Regions from separate parts of the Homo sapiens genome. Here region 1 is linked to region 2. The links are contacts of gene promoters, found by promoter capture Hi-C in human tissues and cell types (Jung and others, 2019). All regions are on one chromosome and are shown on one strand. Each heading gives the region's core, a stretch centred on a gene start or on the middle of the fragment in contact. The rest is flanking DNA. Distances are from core to core; before and after follow the strand shown.

Region 1 (3,893 bases), core at 875-3,374, 33 kb after region 2:
GACTGCCCAATTCATGAGAAGCCCAATGCCCAGTCAGTGGGAGCAGGGGAGGGGACAGTGACTCACCACAGTGACTTACTCAAATAATCTGCCCCACCACCACCACCACCGGCAGACAAAAAAGGAAAATCTACCCAAATATTATTAGCCACAGGAAGCAGCAGAGTTTAGGCAGAAAGGCCTTTTGGTGGTAGAAACACATGGACAATGTGCTAGCAAAGCAGAAAAAGAGTGCCAGGCAGGCAGGAAGGAGAGAAGAGATTAAAAGTCAGGCTGGCTGCAGAACAGAGAGGAAGTCATTGGTAACAGCTTCTCCAGGCCCCACAGCTCCAGAGAGCAAGGTCAAGGAAGCTAAAAAGATGAAGCCCCTAGGGACCCAGGAAGGTGCCTGCTTCACTCCAGCAAAATGTCCCCTTTCCTTTAATCCAAGATCTTTTTCCCATGGTCTGAGGCGTGGAAAGAGAAGAGGGACATTTAGCTGGACTAAGCCCCTACTCTGTGCCCAGGACCAGGCTGCAATAAGCTTTACCTCCTGCTATCTCTCTTGCCTCCAAGAACCCAACAGTGCAGGGGGTAGCACCCCCCAGGCACAGCTGAGAAGCCTGTCGCTAGATACAGGCCAGAGTGGGGATTTAAACACAGACTAATGGCATGCTTAGCTCCACGCTTTTCCTTTCAGGCAGGTAAAGCATCATGCTGCGGCACTGGGGTTGCCAGTAGCCACTTCCATCAATTATGTGTGACCTTGGGCAACCAACTCGTCTCTTTGGGGCTCAGTTTCCATGGCTATAAACCATCACCTACAGCATATGGTGTTGAGAGGATTGAAGGAGCTAGAGCTGAGCCTGGCTCAGAGCTGGCACTCAGTTTGTGCCACCTGTGGAGCTTGTATTCATCTCAAGAAAAGCCATGCCTCAGGAGAACAGAAGAAAACATGCCGTTCCCAGCCCACATTGGTGGTAGTGGAGAGGGCACTGGGCTTGGAGTTCAGAGACCTGAATGGGAGCCCAGGTCAACACCTTCCTAGGGCTGTGATCTTGGATGAGTCACTAGACTCCTCCAAACCTCAGTGTCCTCATCTCTGCAGTGAAGATAATGGCTGGGAATAATACCGGTATTCCTAAAGCTTTGGAAGGCTGAGGCAGCAGGATTGCTTGAGGCCAAGAGTTTGAGATCAGCCTGGGCAACAAGCAAGACTCTATCTCTACAAAAAAATTTAAAAATTAGCTGAGTGTAGTGGCACATGCCTGTAGTCCTAGCTACTCAGGAGACTGAGGCAGGAGAATCACTTGAGCCCGAGAATTCAAGGCTGGAGTGAGCTAGAATCACACCATTGCACTGAAGCCTGGTATCACAGCAAGATCCTGTCTCAAAATAAAATAAAATAAAATAAAATAAGGACGGGCCGGGCTCATGCCTGTAATCCCGGCACTTTGGGAGACCAAAGCGGAGGCATCAGTTGAGGCCAGGAGTTTGAGACCAGCCTGGCCAACATGGAGAAACCCTGTCTCTACAAAAAATACAAAAATTAGCCAGGCGTGGTGCACACCTGTAATCCCAGCTACTCGGGAGCCTGCGGTACGAGAATCGCTTGAACCCAAGAGGCAGAGGTTGCAGTGAGTCAAGATTGCACCACTACACTCCAGCCTGGGCAAGAGGGAGACTCCATCTCACAAATAAATACATAAATAAAATAAAACAAAATAAGGATAATGACTCTCCTGACTGCACAGGATCATGGTGGAGGGACATCGTGGAGATGACAGCACCTAGCAGGGATCGGGGGGAGCAGAGACCAGGAGGCACGGACTGGCCTTTCCCCGTGGTGGCAGGGACTGATCCACTGGTGGCCAGTGACAGGGAGAGGGGAAGGAGCATGGGAGAAGATGCAGATACCCAGAAAGATCCAAACCTCTACCGCAAAGTCAAGGTAGACATTTCCCCAGCCCCGGGGAGTGAGCCTGATATGCATGGAGCAAAGGTAAATGGGGAGGCTATCAGGCTGGGGTCTCTGTCCTTTTCTTTGTCACCCTCTGCTCAAGGCAGCCACTAGGGAGCTGACTGGCCACAGGGACTTTCTTGCCATGTAATCCTGGGGAAAGCTGCTCACCCACTTTGTTCCTTCTCTTTTTGTTGTCCACACTAGGAGACAGTGATTCTCGCCAAGCTCCTGTGTGGGCAGGATGAGAACGAGGAGGAATAAACCACTCAGAAGGAAAGAGATGGAAGATCACATAAATAACCACCCAGTGGGGCATTCAACAGTATCTCCCTGGCTGAGGGGTGGGGGTAAGGGCACATCACAGGAAGGTGTGACAGAGGAGGACCAAACCACAGAGACGAAAATTAGCAACAAGGCTGGGAAGGGAAACCCTTGTGGGTAAAACTTTGCCTCCACCTCAGCAGCATACATGGGGAGGCAGAGCTGCTGTAGGGCAAAGTGGGTGTGGGTGGCGGTTCCTCAGCCCCCTGCTCTCTCCCAGCTTCCATCTGGTCTGCGTGAAACCAGAATGGAATTGGAGGGCATGAAAGATTTGGGATAATAGACCATTTGTGTCTTTCCTAGCTGTATGGCTATAAGCAAGACCTCACCTTCTTGAGCTTTCATTTTCTCATCTCTGAGATGGAAAGGTGATATCTACCTTACTGAGTAGTTGGGAGGAGAAAATACAGCTGTAAGAATAGTAACTACTGTTACATGCTGGGGTGCATGCAATTTCATTAAACTTTCACGACAACTCTATCCAATGAATGTTTTCATATCCATTTACAGAGAAGGAGACAGACTCAGAGAAGTTAAGTGATTTTCCTATGACAAACAGCTGATAAACAGCAGGATTAATGTCAGGCCCAAGGGTTGTCAGACTTCATCCACACGTTGGAGCCTGACATAACGTAACTGATAAATAATGATTCATTCACCCCTCCAAAATCCCTTCCCTGGTTCCTACTCCATTCCCAGTGGCTGCCTGTGGCTGGGCTCACTCCTCGGTCTTGGTCCAGGACTGTGGTTTCTGTGCAGGCTGCCAGTGAAGAAGTCTAGGCCTGTGATCCACTTACTCCTGATATCACCTCTCCCTGGAAGTGGCTCCTCAATTTGACCCCACACGCTGATGACAAATACTTAGGGAGGTGATCTAGCAGGAGGAGGTCTAGTGATACAGGATGCATTCATATCTATGATCTTGAGCCCAGGCTGCCTTCATGTAGCTTCTTTTGTCTGCTGCTGTACAGAGGTGGGAGATCATGAACCCAAAAAGGAGACAGTTGAAGGTGTGGAACCCAATGCTGCATCAGGAGAGTTCATTGCAAAGATCACTCGTGACCTAATCCTCCCCTGAAGAAAACAAGCAGCCACTGGTCTTTACCCTTGAAGTCTCTCTGCTTTCCCTGACAGGATATTGCAAGAATGCTTTGGGATGGAGGGACGAAGGGTGATGGGCTTTCACCAAGCCCCTGCTGTCTGCCAGGGGTTACAATAGGAACTTGACGTGAGTCTCTTCATTGAGGTGCCTCAGCAGTCCTGAAGGACAGGCATGGTATATTCTTAAAAGAAAGCACTCAGGCTCAAGGAAGTTTGTCAAAGTGCCAAAAGCCACCTAGCTGGTAAGGGTCATCAAGGCCCGTCTGACTTCATGTCCACGCTCTTTCCTTTCCACCAGGGCCCCAGTGGATCCGCCTGGTTACCATGGGAGACCAGTGCTTCAGACCAGCCATGCCAAGGTAGGTGGACCTTGCTTGGTGATGTTCTTCATTGTAGACCTTCCTGCAGATTTCAGTCTCCTTTTCATCTTGAGCCCCAACATGACTGTATCCACAGATCACCTATCTGACATGTTTCCTGAGCACTCACTCATTACGCCCAAGGCCCTGTTCTAGAAGCTGGGCAAGGT
Region 2 (3,669 bases), core at 221-2,720:
CATTTTCTTTTTGGTGTCTGCAGGCTCTGCAACTGGTTATATGTACCTTTTTCCTTTTTTCTTTTCTTTTTTTTTTTTTCTGGGACAGAGTCCTACTCTGTCACTCAGACTGGGGTGCAGTGGTGCAATCTTGGCTCACTGTAACCTCGGCCTCCCAGGTTCAAGCAATTCTCCTGCCTCAGCCTCCCAAGTAGCTGGGATTACAGGCATGTGCCACCATGCCTGGGTAATTTTTGTATTTTTTTTAGTAAAGACAGGGTTTTACCATGTTGTCCAGGCTGCTCTAGAACTCTTGACCTCAAGTGATCCCCCCGCCTCAGCCCCTTTTTTCTTTTTTTTTTCATTTTCAGTTCAGGAGAGTTTTAGCTTAATTATAGGCTACAGAACCAGCTTTGGGCTTCATCTATCCTTTCTAATATTTACTGTTTCCTATTTCTCTAATCCTAGCTCTTTATTTCTTCCCTTTACTTTCACTGGGCTTATTTTGCTATAGTGGAATGCAGAGGGATGAGTATTCCAGGAAGGCACAAAAACTGTGCCAAGTCTTGGAGCTAGGGATGAGTGGGAAAGGGACATGTTCAACCATTTTAAGCCATTCCCTCCCCACCTCCCAGCTCCCAGATATGTGCCCCTCGCAGGAGGAGCCCAGGAATGGGCCAAACACCTCACTTCTTTGCTCTGAGGGCCACCCCAGCCCTCCCATCAACAGCTCTAGAAACCCAATGGTCCTTCCTGGAAACACGGGGCCTGCATCAATCAGAGGTGTTTGAACCATGTCCCTCTGGGCCTGAGGGGCAGAAGGGGACACAATATGTAATGTAAGGAGCCCCTGTCATCAGAAATCTGACTTAATCTGTTTCAGATATTAGACTTCCACATAAAAGTTGACTTGGAAAAAGACTTCTGCTGCTAAACAAAAGTTGAAACTGCCTTGGTGATAAAATATAAGCAGACCAGCTTTCTCTTCTAGCTTTCCCTCTCATTTCCCATAAGATTTTGGTCAAGTTATTTAATCTCTCTGCATCCGTTTCCTCTTCTATGAAATGGGCATGATAATAATGGTATGTACCTCCTCAAACTAAATATATAACGTGAACAGAGTCCTTAGCACAGCACTCTTTCTCTACAGGAGTTAATTTTCATTGTTTTTCTCTTTCCTGTTGGAGAAAGTAAGAAGAAAACAGCTCCTTTATGGCTTCCCATGGTGAATGGCTGGGGCGCGTCTGTGTCCCTTTCTCCTCTCTGGCTCCTTGTGGCCTGAACAGCCAGAAGGAAGCCATGCCATGCTGTTTCAGCCCTCAGCTTCCCTCTTGCATTTCCTAGAAAAGTCTTTGGTGCCCAGCTCCAGCTCAGCAGATTCAGGATCCCCCTTCATCATGACTTGGTCAACGCCCTGCTCAGGCCAAGGTCCTCTGAGAGTTCCAAGCTTCTCCACTCCCTATAAAAGGCCGGCGGAACAGCCAGAGGAGCAGAGAGGCAAAGAAACATTGTGAAATCTCCAACTCTTAACCTTCAACATGAAAGTCTCTGCAGTGCTTCTGTGCCTGCTGCTCATGACAGCAGCTTTCAACCCCCAGGGACTTGCTCAGCCAGGTAAGTCACCTCCCTTCGACTCTCCCTCTCTTTCCCTCTGTTTCTCTATTCAAGGAAGACCTAAGCCCGAGTGCTCCTCCACTTTTTTTTTAGATTGAGTCTCATTATGTTGCCCAGGCTGAAGTGCAGGGGTGCGATCTTGGCTCATTGCAACCTTCACCTCCCAGGTTCAAGCGATTCTCTTGCCTCAGCCTTCTGAGTAGCTGTGATTACAGGCACCCGCCATCACGTGCAGCTAATTTTTGTATTTTTAGTAGAGAAGGGGTTTCACTATGTTGGCCAGGCTGGTCTCAAACTCTTGACCTCAAGTGATCCTCCCGTCTCGGCCTCCCAAAGTGCTGGGATTACAGGCGTGAGCCACCAGGCCCAGCCAAGTGCCCCACTTCTAAGCCCACCAGAATAGTAAGGCTCCTCAGAGGTTCACTTTAACATCTAATTTTAAAGATAGAAAGCTGAAGCCCATGTTGGAGGCAGAAGGGACCCTAGCCATCCACCTCCAGGTTATTGCAGAGCAAGAATGAAACCTAAGCTTCTGACTCCAGATTTAGGGCCTTTTCTTTGACCTCATCTGATCGTCCCAAACTCTGCAGATCTGGGACCACACCCAGGACCTTTCCCACTGGCCTTGCCCGTGGCCTCCCCTAGATGGCTGTGACATGTCTCCACCATGCAGCTGAGCCTTTGAGATCCTGAGGCACATGTCACAGGTCCCACCTCACCTCAGGGTCTAGGGTGGGAGTGCTGGGCTTGGGGGTGAGTAAGATCTATTTCTTCCTCTTTGCTTTGCATCCCATACAGATGCTCCCTGCTGTATTCAAGCTGAGAAAAGCCTAACACATCCTCAAAGTCTTTTTCTTTGTAACTATTTCTAGATGCACTCAACGTCCCATCTACTTGCTGCTTCACATTTAGCAGTAAGAAGATCTCCTTGCAGAGGCTGAAGAGCTATGTGATCACCACCAGCAGGTGTCCCCAGAAGGCTGTCATGTGGGTAGAAAAATCCCTGCTCACCTGGCTCCTCCCCACTCCCACATTCCCCAATCCAAAGTTCTGCCCCAGGAGACAGACGTCAGACTGACTTGAGATCTTAGGATGAGATCTAGCCAGACTGTGTGATGCAAATCCTCCAATTTTGGCTGCACAACAGGTCCAAAGAGGACCTATAATTTCCCACACCTTGTTTCCTGGATGGGCACCAGCCCACACCCTTTAGCAGATGCCAGGATCAGTTTCCCAGGGGCAGCAAGAGCAGTGGCTGCCTCCAGAGACCCCTTCTGTCCACACACCTCCTACTTCCTGTCCTGGAGGGGTGCCCCTTCACCTGTAGTAGGTGGACCAGGCAGGTTTAGAACCCAGTGTGTCATCTCCTGGGTAAACCCTCAAAGGGTTCCATCTAACTGTGCCAGATCTCCTTCCTCCACAGCTTCAGAACCAAACTGGGCAAGGAGATCTGTGCTGACCCAAAGGAGAAGTGGGTCCAGAATTATATGAAACACCTGGGCCGGAAAGCTCACACCCTGAAGACTTGAACTCTGCTACCCCTACTGAAATCAAGCTGGAGTACGTGAAATGACTTTTCCATTCTCCTCTGGCCTCCTCTTCTATGCTTTGGAATACTTCTACCATAATTTTCAAATAGGATGCATTCGGTTTTGTGATTCAAAATGTACTATGTGTTAAGTAATATTGGCTATTATTTGACTTGTTGCTGGTTTGGAGTTTATTTGAGTATTGCTGATCTTTTCTAAAGCAAGGCCTTGAGCAAGTAGGTTGCTGTCTCTAAGCCCCCTTCCCTTCCACTATGAGCTGCTGGCAGTGGGTTTGTATTCGGTTCCCAGGGGTTGAGAGCATGCCTGTGGGAGTCATGGACATGAAGGGATGCTGCAATGTAGGAAGGAGAGCTCTTTGTGAATGTGAGGTGTTGCTAAATATGTTATTGTGGAAAGATGAATGCAATAGTAGGACTGCTGACATTTTGCAGAAAATACATTTTATTTAAAATCTCCTACACAGTGGTGTTTTCTTCAGGAGTAACTGCCAACCAGTAGGGGCTCTCAGAGGTGTGGGTGGATGGCA

Evidence for each region. The method cuts DNA at HindIII sites, captures the fragments that hold promoters and counts their contacts. A contact is called where the count stands out against the background at its distance.
Region 1: a fragment that was not itself captured here is called in contact with the fragment with the promoter of CCL13 in region 2 in 1 of the 25 tissues and cell types used here (spleen).

What each region holds. Positions count from the first base shown.
Region 1 is chr17:34,387,205-34,391,097 of GRCh38, forward strand. No RefSeq gene overlaps it. Among named protein-coding and RNA genes, the nearest start is that of CCL1, 26 kb to the left of the region's middle. The HindIII fragment of the contact is 4,930 bases long and covers 1-3,893 here.
Region 2 is chr17:34,355,010-34,358,678 of GRCh38, forward strand. CCL13 (C-C motif chemokine ligand 13) reads left to right here and starts at 1,471. Exons shown (of 3, transcript NM_005408.3): 1 at 1,471-1,593; 2 at 2,466-2,580; 3 at 3,017-3,601. The coding sequence starts at 1,518. The coding sequence ends at 3,122. The HindIII fragment of the contact is 2,821 bases long and covers 544-3,364 here.